Linked DNA regions of Homo sapiens: region 2 is linked to region 1. The links are contacts of gene promoters, found by promoter capture Hi-C in human tissues and cell types (Jung and others, 2019). All regions are on one chromosome and are shown on one strand. Each heading gives the region's core, a stretch centred on a gene start or on the middle of the fragment in contact. The rest is flanking DNA. Distances are from core to core; before and after follow the strand shown. Region 1 holds the start of FAM43A (family with sequence similarity 43 member A). Region 2 overlaps LOC105374292 (a long non-coding RNA gene).

Region 1 (6,577 bases), core at 3,762-6,261:
CAATATTATAACAGGGCAAGTGCAGAGGTAAGGATGCACACAAGGGCATGTGGAGAGGCGATGAGTAGGCCTAGGCGGTTTACCTGGAGAAAATGGTATCCAAGATGGCTCTGTAAGAATGAGTAAGCCTTGGCCGGGACAAATGGCAGGAGGAGGTCATATCAGTTAGATAGAGCCACATAAGGCATGGCAGGAAGGGAAAAACCACTCTCATGAGCATGGGGAGAAGCATAGGCTATTCTCTGTGGCTGGTTCATAAATTAGGAGTCCAGGAGAAAAGAATGAGGTTGGAGACATAGGCAGGTGCCAGACCTGAACATTCTCATGTGTTATACTGAGGAGTGGGAGTGTACCGTGTGGCTGATGGGAAGCCATTTTGAAGGTTAAAAGGGGAAGAGAGAAAAGGTCAGAGGTGTGGTTTGGTAAGTATTGAAGGTGGCTTTCAGAGGGGCAGGTTGAAGGGAGGAGAGACTTCGGAGCCTGGAGGAGGGAGGTGGGCTTGGGTGTGGACGTGCTTTTTGTAGGTTGGCAGGGGCTGGAGGTTGCTCTAACTGCCTCGTTTTTGTGGGGGAAGCACCCGGTCAGTTCTGCTGAGCTCTGGGGGAGCCAGTGGCTTTGGGAAACTAGTGAGGACTTAGCGTATGTGTTGAGGAGAGTGGGAGAGGGAAGAGAGTCAGGATAAGGGAAAAGATGGCTGGATGGGAGGTGTACTGCTGCTGGAACAAACTGCCACGAACGTAGTGGCCTAAATCAACACAAATTCACAGCGCTGCAGGTTAGAACCCAACACGGGCCTCACTGGGCTAAAACCAAGGTGTCTGATAGCCACCTTAAAGAAGCAAAAAGAAATAGGTAAGTTTTTGTTGTTGTTGTTGTTTTTTGAGACAGACTCTCGCTCTGTCGCCCAGGCAGGAGCGCAGTGGCACAATCTCGGCTCACTGCAACTTCTGCCTCCCAGGTTCAAGTGATTCTCCTGCCTCAGCCTCCCGAATAGCTGGTATTATAGGCATGCACCACTATGCCTAGCTAATGTTTGTATTTTTAGTAGAGACGGGGTTTCACCATGTTGACCAGGCTAGAGAAATAGGTAAAATTAATCTGAATAATTTATTTAAATCAACATAGCCAAAATACTATCATTCAATATATAATGAATATAACATTATGAAGATTTTTTGCATTCTTTTTGTTTTACTAAGTCCTGAAAATCCAGTGTGTAGTTCATACTCGTAGTGCGTCTAAATTTGGGCCAGCTATGGTTCAAGTGGCAGCAGCAGCCTGTGGCTGGTGACTGCGTACTGGGCCGCACAGGCTGCAATGCTCTCCCCCATCTCTTTGCAGGTTCATCTCATTCCTGTCTCTGCCCAGAGCCACCTTCCCTGGCCATGCTGTCTAAACCAGCCACCTCTCACTCCTAGCACTGCCTCCTTTTCTCCAGAGACTTTTCACTATCTGCTATTTCATTAGTTTTTTGTTTACTGTCTGCCCTCCTGCCTCCACCAGAGGCTATAAATCCCATGCAGGCAAAGACCTCTCTATCTGTCCTCTTTAGTGCTATATCCCCAGCAACTATGTGACATTCATGGGAGACTCTCCACAAGTATTTACTAGATGACATTGAAGATTCCAGATTCGTCATGTGTCATCTCTGAAGTCAATGTCCACTGAGTAGGATGTTGGAGGAGGGGCGAGAGGAAGGAGCATTATGTAAGACGTAAGGTGGGAGGAAGCTGGTCCAAATCCTCTGTGAGATGAAAGGCTTACTCCTGGATGTCAAGTTTAGGGCTGGGACTCCTGATGGCAGCATTTCCTTCCAACTGCGACCCGGTTGTGTGTAGTTTCAACCACTAGCTTATCTGGTTTGACGAGAAACCATCCACCGAGCAGCATTTCTGCCTGCTACCAGTAGATGGGGGCAGTGTCATTAAAAAAGTACACTGCAGTTTCTAACCTGTTTCCCAGCTCCACTTTGCTGACAGTCTGTTCTGGAGTTGCCCTGTCTCAGATCTGTGATGTGGACTCCCACATGGTGCTGCCAGCTCTCCCAGCTGAAGAAACGCAGCCTTAATTGTGATGTGTGCTTCAGGTGGGGTGGTCAGCTTCTCCATAAGGTGAGGCGGGCCCTAGAGGCTGGCACAGGTCCAGGCCACAAGGGGACCGCGGGTTCTCCTCCAGGGCATGACTCACACCAGGGTGTTCACACTGGCCTAGAACCTTTCTGTTCTCCCAAGGTTGGAAACAAGCTTATTAGGAAGGCGGTCAAGGCGTGACATAGCCTCGTCAACAGGAGCAGCTCTGTGGGCCTGTGCCGCTGGGACTGGCACTCCGGCTGCTGCTGAACAGCCCGGCCCACCAGTAGACTCCTCCCTGCCTCTGTGGGCCACTGGGGTCCATGCCACTGCATGAAGTGCAAAGTGGTGCCTCTCGCTGAGGCTGAGACCAGCCTTAGCTCCTGCTACTACTCCCTCTTCCTCTTCCCCAAACCCTCTTGAGCCTTGGAACTTTGAGCGATTTGGAAATGATCACTGCTTAAACATGATGTCTGCTTTTGTGGAGTTCAAGATTATGGACCTACTAAAGGTCACTGAACACAGCCTCATTTGATATGTTTTTACCAGAGTTTTTGTTCTTTAGAGCGTGTGCTATCTCCTTCATTGCCACTACAAGATAGCCTAGAAATTTAAGGAATTAATGTTGCCTTAAATGGCTTATTATAGTACTAACTACCTCATTCCAACAGCATGTCTGGTATCCCTCCATTAACCCATCAGTGCAGCTGAGGAGTAAGGCATTATAGCTCTGGTTGAAGGACCCTGTGGGGCCAGTTAGCCATGAAGAGGCCATTCCTTCCCTTGGAGTGTAAGAGAGCCAAAAAACACAATCAGGAAGGTTTATTCTTTGATTGTTACAAGCTCCATCTTAATTACTACATGTGTATGCATTTTCTTTCTTTCTTTCTTTCTTTTTTTTTGAGACGGTCTCACTGTGTCATCCAGGCTGGAGTGCAGTGGCGCGATCTCGGCTTACTGCAACCTCCGCCTCCCGGGTTCAAGGGATTCTCCTGCCTCAACTTCCCAAGTAGCTGGAATTACAGGCGTGCACCACCATGCCCAGCTAATTTTTGTATTTTTAGTAGAGATAGAGTTTTGCCATGTTGGCCAGGCTGGTCTTGAACTCCTGACCTCAAGTGATCCACCCGCCTCAGCCTCCCAAAATGCTGGGATTACAGGCGTGAGCCACCGCGCCTGGCCTTATGCATGCATTTTCATGCTTCTGTAATTTTGCTACCCTCTATACCCATAAAGCCCTTCAGTCTTTTCCTATTTGGATAAATTCTGTTTATCTTTCAAAGGTCACCACCTCCATGAAGCCTTTTCTGATTTTCCTAGTCACAATGAATGCTTTCTTCCTCCAGCTTCTCATAGTGCTTTGAGTCTTTCTCATAGCATTTAGCCCACTCTGTCTTCTTGTCCACATGCATATCTTGCTCATTAATTCTAGTTACTGAGTGCCTATTTGTACCATATTGGGGATACAGGGTACTTGCAGAGAACCCACAGTCCAGTGGAAACCCAGAGTTGGGTAGAGTTTACAACCTTCATTGGACTAGGAGGCAGGAATCCCGTCTGCTCCTAGCTCAGGGCCGGGCACCAAAAGGTAGTCAGAAAAGTAACTTAAATGGAAACTCAGCAAAGTAACTTAAATGGAAACTCAGCATCAACGACTCTGAGAAAATTGAGTTAGATTTCAAAGGAAGGTTAAAAGTTGGCAAAGGTAGAGGGTGGGCAGGGGTCAGTTTTATTTTGTTGGAATATCCCAAGGGAATTTCCAGGTATGGTTGCAGTGACTCTGGCATGAAGACCTGGCGTGGAAGCCAGAGACATCAAAGATCCCCAGGGGACTGGGATGGTGGGAAGGGATCACTGTCCTCCTCCAGGACCAGGCTGGGAGTTTGATGCAGGATCATTCGGACATTGATCCCACTCCAGCCATACGTCTTTTTGCTTTGACTGACCATACCATAGAGGCAAGCAGGCTGTTTCAAGGGCCCAGAAATGAGTTACTGGCTAAGGGTCAAGCCGGTCAGAAGACAACTACACTGTCCAGTTGGCACATGATAAAAGCAATACTGATGCAATTATCACTCCCATTGGAGGGTGGCCTGGCATTATTTGTCACTTAAATAAAAAACGTCATTTGAATTTTTACTAGGAATTCTCATCCAAAATATGTCAATGATAGAATGAAACCGCATGACCGGCTTGCCAAAGTAAACTAAGTCCTAACGACACACGAGCATTAGAAATTGTGTGTATCTCAGAAAACTGCTCTACCCTGAGGCCTGACAGCAGGAGGGGGTCTTGCCGGGGTTCGGACGGGGAAAAGCCTTATTCATTGACGGTATTCTACAGTAGTCACCCCAATCATGTTACCACTCACCTCACTTTACACTGTCTGCTGCTTACCTGTGAATACGAGCTCAAGATAGTGAGAGATAAGCCTTGGTGTTTTCTGTGCCTCTCTCTTTTCTTTAATGGAATACAATTCTGAAAATAATATTAAACAGCACCCAGTCATTCTCAGAAAGCCGTCACACAAGGAAGAAACCACTATTTTCCCAAACTTTTTGTACAGGAAATTATAATCTGTAATCTCATCTTCTGCCACCTCCCTCAGAAGTTTCGATCTAGACATACATGTATTCAGTGAGTGGCAATTCAGCCTGGGGGGTGGAGTGTCAGGATTCAAATCTTTTTGCTGCGGGGTAACCCCAGGTCCCAGTGATTTCCATAGACAAAAGAGATGCTGGTAAATTTGGGATGTAATTGGAGGATTGGACCGGTCTCCCCGCTCCCTCGACCAATGGCTGTCACGCGGTCCCTTTAAGAAACCAGGAATCCGCCCGGAGTCGGAGCCCAAAACAGATCCTCTTCTCTGCTCCTCCCCTGTCCCCGCGCGGCGAATGGTTCGCGCCGGCCTATATTTACCCGAGATCTTCCTCCCGGACGGCAAGGATGTGAGGCAGGCGAGCCGGACGCCGCTCGCAGCACCGGAGAGGGCGCACTGCAAAGGCGGGCAGCAGACCGTGGAGAGCCCGGGAGCGGAGCTGGACACCGCCTCGGAGGGAAGAAATGAGGTAGCGGCGGTTCCCGGACCCGGCCATGCCCGTCCCCTGTTCTCGGAGCCCAGCGCCGTCTCGGCCAGGCCAGCCCGGACACTGAGCGGGCCGAGCGCGAGTCCCCGGCGTCCGGCGGAGCGAAGATGCAGTGAGTCCCCGCGGGACTGCTGCGCGGGGCCCGCCGCGGCCAGCCGGACCCAGCATCCGACCGCACTTTGGGCGAGCTGCTGACTTGAGACCAGCCCAAACGGGGGGCTTTCCATCTCCAGCACCCCTCGGAGGTGGGGAGCACCGGCCCCTAGGCACACTCGCTGTAGAGTTTCCGCGGGTTTTGGCCCCAGTCCTGAGGGTTGTGTGTGTTAGGGGACCCACCTCACGTTCGCCGAGGAGTTCCTGCATATTCTTGCACCATCCCGGGTGCTGTTGCTGGGGCTCTCTTTATTTGCACGCGCGCTTCTAGCTTTTTTCCTGACATTTTCCACTCTACGCTCGTTCTTTCTCCCTTGCATTTTGTTGCTTGCCTGAGACTCTTTGCTCTCGCCCTTGCCCAGGCTGGGGTAATTCTGTGTGCGCGCGTGTCTCCCCCGCACCAACCTTTTTTGCACACTCGAAGCTGAATATTTTCTTTTTTAGAGAATTTACCCGCACCTCCTGCGGGGTTCCTAAGCACTCTCTCTGCTCCCCTCCCCCCAACTCCCTACCACAGGGCCGCTCCCAGTAGTTTTATTCTTCGATCTTGCCCGGGCCGAGCCTGGCAGGGGCCGGTGGCTCAGCGGGCCTCGCACCCGGCGCTCCGCCGCCGCCGCCGCCCAGCTGCGCCGGGGCGCCCTCCGGAGATGCTGCCGTGGAAGAAGCACAAGTTCGAGCTGCTGGCCGAGGCGCCGCCGCGGCAGGCGTCCAAGCCCAAGGGCTACGCTGTGAGCCTGCACTACTCGGCGCTCAGCTCGCTGGCGCGGGCGTGCCCCGAAGGCGCGCTTAGCCGGGTGGGCAGCATGTTCCGCTCCAAGCGCAAGAAGCTGCACATCACTAGCGAGGACCCAACTTACACCGTGCTCTACCTGGGCAATGCCACCACCATCCAGGCGCGCGGCGACGGCTGCACCGACCTTGCTGTGGGCAAGATCTGGAGCAAGAGCGAGGCGGGCCGTCAGGGCACCAAGATGAAGCTGACGGTGAGTGCGCAGGGTATCCGCATGGTGCACGCCGAGGAGCGCGCGCTGCGCCGCCCGGGCCACCTCTACCTGCTGCACCGCGTCACCTACTGCGTGGCCGACGCGCGGCTGCCCAAGGTCTTCGCCTGGGTGTACCGGCACGAGCTGAAGCACAAGGCCGTGATGCTGCGCTGCCACGCCGTGCTGGTGTCCAAGCCCGAAAAGGCGCAGGCCATGGCCCTGCTGCTCTACCAGACGTCGGCCAACGCGCTGGCGGAATTTAAACGCCTCAAGCGGCGGGACGACG
Region 2 (6,577 bases), core at 1,891-4,390, 130 kb after region 1:
GCTGACAACTCTCCGAAGATCTGTACTTGAGACCCATTGCTTCAGTTCATTTGATCCCCAAAACAACAATGTGAGGAAAACTGGGTAGGGATTAAAGCAGTATTGCCATTTTATAGGTAAGCAAACCGTCGAGGCAAGATGATGTTCTTTTGAGCTCGCAGTGTCTGTTCTATTCGTTAGGATCACGTTCATCGTCAACAGAACCCTTACTGGAGTATTTCCTAAGTGCCATACAGGGTGCTAAGTCCCTTACAAGCATGAGCCCCTCTAATCCTCACAGCCACCCAGTAACTGAAGGGTGCTATCATTCCTCATTTTAATAATAGCTAAAGCGAGGGTTAGACAGCTTAACTCTCCAAGGTCCAGGGTCACACATAGAGTGAGTGGCAGAACCAGGATTCAAACCCAGGTTTAGACTACTCCAAAGCTGCCCCGCTTTATGGATTTTGATCTGCCTGCGGTCACTAGCTGGTAAGAGGGAAACTGACTACAAACCCTGAGCATTCTGACTCCTGGCCCGCTGCTTCCCCCTGGGGTAAAGGTCTGAGTGGGTGTCTCTGCCTCTTCCTGCTGCTCCATCTGTCCGGATACACCATCACTTGGCTCCATTAAGTTTTGTTGACTAAAGAAAGAAGTAAGCTTTTAAAGAATTAAAGTTAGTTTTATTTCAACGTTTTATTGAGGATTATCGCCGGGGGGTAGACTTTTAGAGGGTTTTATTAGACTGTGTTAAGTTAGTACTTTAGTTTATAGTTTATACACAGATTGTGAAGATTTAGTATGTGTAAAAGTTTGTCTAAGTTTGGGTGTACGAGTATATTTGGTTATAGTTTGTAGGGATAGGTATTAACCTAGACAGGTGTTATTTTACGTGTAGGAGAAGGCAACTTAGATATAATTGCCAGTGGGAACCTGGGACTGGGGTCAGAAGCTGAGCAAAGAATCCAGCATAAGAATTCTTTACATTATCGGCTTGACTTTTATAACCAGCAGTGAGCTAAAGGCACTTGCCTCTTCCGCCTACTGGGACATAAAACTCAGCCAGGAAAGGCAAAGAACCTCTTAGCACACTACTCCTAATGGGTTATGAGTCTAGCAGATACTGGTGAAGGTGGAACTCTCCAGGACTGTCTTAATCTGTTTTGTGATCTGGATTAGGGAACAAAGCTGCATCCCTGTTCCCTGTCTGAATGAGCAGTTCCCATTTTATAAGCGCAGAATAAACACGGAAAGTGAGTTGTTCCTAGTCTTCCAGTCAACTGAACGTTAGGTGCAGAATCTCCCATACAGCTGGGCAGTCCAAGTCTCTGCCTCAACCCTGCACTTCAGATGGCCCCAGTGTAGGCCTTACTCCAGCTCCAGGTGGGGAAATCCACAGGGTCAGGGGCCATGCCAGCAGCAGCCCCTGCAGCCTCTTCCAGACCATGACACAGACACATGGGATGACAGAATTTCTGGATCAAATGGCTGGGAGCCACCTCTGTGGCCTGAACTAGCCTCTTGCCCAACCTGCAGAGGTCAGGATGTACCTCAGACAGGAGAAGAGGGGCACTGTTTCCAAGTCTGACTGTGGGTCGATCGTGCGTGCTCCTTACCCCGCCTCACACAGAGACTCACACTCCTTCTCTCCCCAGCCCTTTCCCACCAGAGCCAGCAGGAGAATGGAGATTCACTTTCTAAATAAGTTTAACAGAAGGGACTTTGACTTGAGGGCCACTAGGATCAATGGAGGGTAGTGGGGTGCCGCACAGGCTGCAAACAAGAGGATTCAGTGAAATCTACATAATGGATAGTAAGACTCTGCCCCTCTCCCTACCCTGCCAAGGAGCACCTGCAGCCAAGCACGTGCCCCCCGGGAGACTGGGCTCTGCCTCTCTAGAGAAACTGAACAGATGACAAGAACCGACCTTGAGAGACTGGCATCTGGGGGTCCTCTGACGAAGTGTGTGGCTTGTTCTCTGGGCATTCACATGCAATAAGCTGATGTCATCACTCTCTGCCTGAAAATGCCCTCAATTCTCTTGCCAAGCCTCCTCTGTTGCACTCAAAATCACACACCTCCGTGCTGCCCAAAGACCCTTCAGAGTTCTTCTGGAAAGCTTGCTGTCCCCCTCTGCAAGGGAATAATTGCATACTTTACCCTTTCTCCTTAAACCCTGTCACTTTCACCAGGGAACCTTGTCTCATGTCTTTAATAGCAGCCATCAGGGAGAACCAGCCTCGTCGTCCTTCTCCCAGTGCTGGAACCGTCCCTCCATCTGCACCAGCTTCTTCCCTCGGGCTCTGATGGACAAGCAGCCTTCCCCCTGCCCACAGAGACCCCCTCACCTCCCACTCGAAGCCCTCTCCCCTCTCCTCACCCACTCTAGGTTTCAGCTCCACTCTCTCCCTGTCTCCGGTCTTGGTCATTCCTGTAACACACAGTTCCCCATCCTCTCCCATCTCTGACCAGCTTCTGCTGGCTCTGTCCTCTTCACAGTAAAACTTTCCGACCACATTGGCTGCACTCGCCAGGCCCCTTTTCTCACCCCCGTTCACTCTCCTAATCTTACTTATGTAAAGTTCACTCTCCTAAGCTTACTTATGTAAAGCCTCTTCCAGGTTATCCTTTCTGTGTTGTGGCTGCCGACGCTCTAAGACTGAGGTTCATTTCCTTGCCTAGTTGTCTGGTTTTTTTAAACAGTAAGCTCATCATCACCAAGGGGTATTTTTGGGGCATTCCATGTCCCTTGAGTTAAGAGGATTTCCCGGCCAGGCGCCGTGGCTCACGCCTGTAATCCCAGCACTTTGGGAGGCCGAGGTGGGTGGATCATCTGAGGTCAGGAGTTCGAGACCAGCCTGGTCAACATGGTGAAACCCTGTCTCTTCTAAAAATACAAAAATTAGCCTGGCGTGGTGGCAGGCGTCTGTAATCCCAGCTACTCAGGAGGCTGAGGCAGGAGAATCGCTTGAACCCGGGAAGTGGAGGCTGCAGTGAGCCGAGATCGTACCACTGCACTCCAGCCTGGGTGACAGAGCGAGACTCTGTCTCAAAAAAAAAATAACAAAATAAAAATAAAACAAATAAGATTTCCCTGCAGGTGGTTCTGCCTCTCCCATGCCAGATCTTTTGGGTTTTGCTGTTCTGTTCTGGACTGGTTCTGAGAGCGCTGATGCCTGAGAGCTAATGAGACACAGCCTCTCCTGACAGCTCCCACCTGTCCAATCTGGATCTGACAGCTCCTGCCTGTCCAACCTGGATTACTTCTAGATCCCTGACCCGAGATGTAAGATCCAAAACCACCCAGAATGTTTCTTGTTCCCCCCAGATCTCATGCGATGTGTGGAAACAGGACGAGTTTTAATCTGCTCAGCATGCAGGTGTACATGTGGGCCTCACTGTCCTCCACAGAATGCCCCCAGGAAGGGGTGGGAGGATGGATTACAAAATCCAACAGGCAACTATCAGGTAGTACAGCTCCCAGAAGTCTGGTAATCCCTCGTCGACATGTCCTATAATGGAAGTAAAGAATGCGAGAAACCAAAAATCCTGTGGATGGGAAATGGGGATGAAACCATGTCATTAAATAGCATTTTAGGGAAATGTGCTCAAAAATGTGGTTTAGGCTGTGTGGTGGCTCACGCCCGTAAAGGCCGGGTGCGGTGGCTCATGCCTGTAATCCCAGCACTTTGGGAGGCTGAGGCAGGCAGATTGCTGAAGCCCATGAGTTCGAGGCCAGCCTGGGCAACAACAAAACCCCACCTCTACAAAAACCATAAAAATTAGTGGGATATGGGCATGGTGGCACGCGCTGTAGTCCCAGCTACTCAGAAGGCTGAGGTGGGAGAATTGCTTGAGCCTGGTGGGTGAAGACTCATGCAGTGACCTCTGATTGCACCACTGTGCTCTAGCATGGGTGACAATGAGACAATGTCTCAAAAAAAGAAAAAAAGAAAAGAAAAAAAAAAGAAAAACTTGGTTTACAAACAGGTTACATTAGGTGGAATGATTATGTACATTGCTCTTTGCCTTACCTAAGAATGCATTTAAAAAATCACTGTGGCCAATGGTCAGGAGCCTGGGCCAAACTTCCACGGACCAGCTAGCTACATCACCTCTGTAAACTCTGCTTCCTTGTTAGTAAAATAAAGCTATTCATACCCCTTTCATATGCTCAAAGCCAGGACATCAGTTTGTAACTCAGCACCGGAGAGGGCTCCAGTCACTTTTTGAGCTGTGGTCACAGGCTAGACAGGGAGGAGGAGGACAGCTAAGTTTGCTCAGTGTTGAGAGTTTTGGAGAGTCTTGAGTGAGTCCTGTCTGTGCAATGCAAAGGAGAACCATGGAGAGGAGGGGAGGCTGGACCGGGCTTCACCTCACACGGTGCAGGAATGGCCACAAAGTCCTGATGAAGAGCAGCCCCTGCGGGACATCCCTGACAAACAACCCTACAGCTTCTGCTTGAGTCTCCCCAGCATGGGGAACTCACCACCTTCCAAGGCACCTGTAAGTACTATTCTTGCTAGTGATGAGTTGAAACCTGCTATCTTCTCTCCCTCTGGGTTCCCAAGAGGTCAACCTGCCCCCCAAGAAGATTCCACAGTTCTAGAAATATCTGTTTCCAGATGCCCTTCTAAGATAGGAAGTGGTAACCCCACTGGGCTCCCATTCTTTATCCTAAGGGAGAGAATCCTCCCCACATTGTCCAAACAATCAGGGTCAGAAGAGTCACGGAAGAAGAAAAAATGGCAGCCTGGAGGCCTGGAACAGTCTATACTGCAGGGGGCTTGCCAGGGTCAGGGATGGTATCTGTGGTTGAGGGAAGCAGAGGGTGGGGTGGGGTGGGGGACTCAAATGGCCTTTGTAGGGCTGATGCATACAGGGTCCAGGGGCCCACACTCTCTAAGAAATCTGGTCTCGAGCTAAGATGGCTCAAGTTTACCATTTTAATACACCATTGTACAGTGTCTCTGCGTGTGAGTGGGTGCTTTGCTATTGATAGCATGAACATGGCTCCTTCTCACTGTCCCTCGAAGACAGGAGGGACAGTATCACTTTCTCAACCAAGGCCTAACGTGGGGTGGGAAAAAAAAGTTTTATCTCAGAATAGCCTATTACTGTCATCCTCATACTTATTTTTACCTAGAATTCAGAATTAAGAACATTTTTTACTTAAAGAGAGCAATTCACATGTCAGAAATTTTTCCTTAAGAAGGTATTGAAATGTATTGAGTTAAGAATGTATTGGAACGTACTGAGTTAAGAATGTATTGAATTGTACTGAGTTAAGAATGTATTGAAATAGGTACTGAGTTTGGATTTTTTTTTTTTTTGCAAATACTCAATAACACTCGTTAGTAGACAAAAGCATCAGTGGTGTAAGTTTAAAAATACTGGAGTGACTGCTTTGCTGGCTATTCTTTTATAGCTCTTGTAAATGAAGAAATTAAAACTGCAAGTTGAAACTGAGTCACTGATGGCGCCAGATGTTTCTGGAGCAAAACTGGGAAAGAGGGTGAGCATTGGAAAGACACCTCCTCCTGTTATCTTCGAGAAGCCATTTACTGGGAAAACAAAAACTGAGCTCCATGATGCATAAATTCCAAAATGCAGAGGCCAATTTCTTTCCCTTTGACCACATGTCGGAAAGGCTCGGGGTTCAGTAACTGGAGGTGAGTCATGGCCTTTCCTAAACTCGAGTGAATGTGTTGGGAAAGGCGGGTGGTCTTGGGCCTGTGTCAATGTGGGCTTCTTTCCAGGCCATGAGAGCCGCTCTCAGAGTAGCCAAGCAGGGTCCTGCGGGGAGGTCTTGGTGACATACGTGTGCCCATTGGAGGCGTTTGTGTCTATCCTGCGGTGAGCGTGCACAATTAGGCATATGTATGATTGGAAATGCATTTTCGCCATTGCTTTCATGTTTATACATGTACATATGTAGGAATTCATGCAATGACTATTAGATAAGTAGGCTGTGGAGGTCTTGAAAGCAGGGGCTCCAAGTGTGCAAAGTACTCGGTTCTCTACCTGTGGTGGGTCCTTCATAGTTGGTAAACAACAACAACAACAGTTCTGGGGGTGAGGAGTGGAGCAAAAGTTGGTGGAGTCATCTGCATTTAGGCAGAGCCTGGCATGTGCAGCTCCAGCAGCAGGGCCAGGACACGGAAGGCTGGCATGAGAAAGAGGGCTAGCTGTGGGGCTGCAGGTCAGGGGAAAGAGCAGCGCCTGCCCACCCATCAACACACTCCACGGCACAGATGCAGGTGCAGGGCTGTACGGAGGGCAGGTGACACGATCTCAGGTCCTAGCCCCCTGGGGGGAAAGCAGCCCACCTCCTGGGGTGATCTCTGCACTGAGCCCTGAAACCCAGGTCCCTCAGCTTCCTCAGGACCACCCTCTACGAACTTCACTTTGCCCGTCATTCAAGGCCTTGTCCACTTACCCCTCTTGCTTCTTCATGCTTGGAAGAGAAGCGTCCTCAAATCTGTCCAATCATACCTCCTTTTCCTCTTCTTTTCTCCGCTTCTATTCATGGCCAAGTTTCCTAAAAGAGTGCTTCTCGTTTGGCGTCTTCACTTACTCCCCTTCCACTCTCCTTGA

Evidence for each region. Contacts are between HindIII fragments. The study calls those that stand out against the background at their distance.
Region 2: a contact is called between a fragment that was not itself captured here and the fragment with the promoter of FAM43A in region 1, in 1 of the 25 tissues and cell types used here (H1 embryonic stem cells).

What each region holds. Positions count from the first base shown.
Region 1 is chr3:194,680,872-194,687,448 of GRCh38, forward strand. It overlaps FAM43A (family with sequence similarity 43 member A), which reads left to right and starts at 5,012. Exons shown (of 1, transcript NM_153690.5): 1 at 5,012-6,577. The coding sequence starts at 5,956. LOC124909474 reads right to left here and starts at 6,038. Exons shown (of 3, transcript XM_047449428.1): 1 at 4,989-6,038; 2 at 4,467-4,547. The coding sequence starts at 5,382. RefSeq lists enhancers at 2,007-2,056, 4,742-5,101, 5,853-6,358, 6,359-6,577 and a silencer at 5,842-6,031. The HindIII fragment of the contact is 10,115 bases long and covers 703-6,577 here.
Region 2 is chr3:194,816,246-194,822,822 of GRCh38, forward strand. LOC105374292 (a long non-coding RNA gene) reads left to right here. Exons shown (of 6, transcript XR_001741084.2): 4 at 4,316-4,486; 5 at 5,409-5,652. Among named protein-coding and RNA genes, the nearest start is that of LINC01972, 51 kb to the left of the region's middle. The HindIII fragment of the contact is 3,543 bases long and covers 1,370-4,912 here.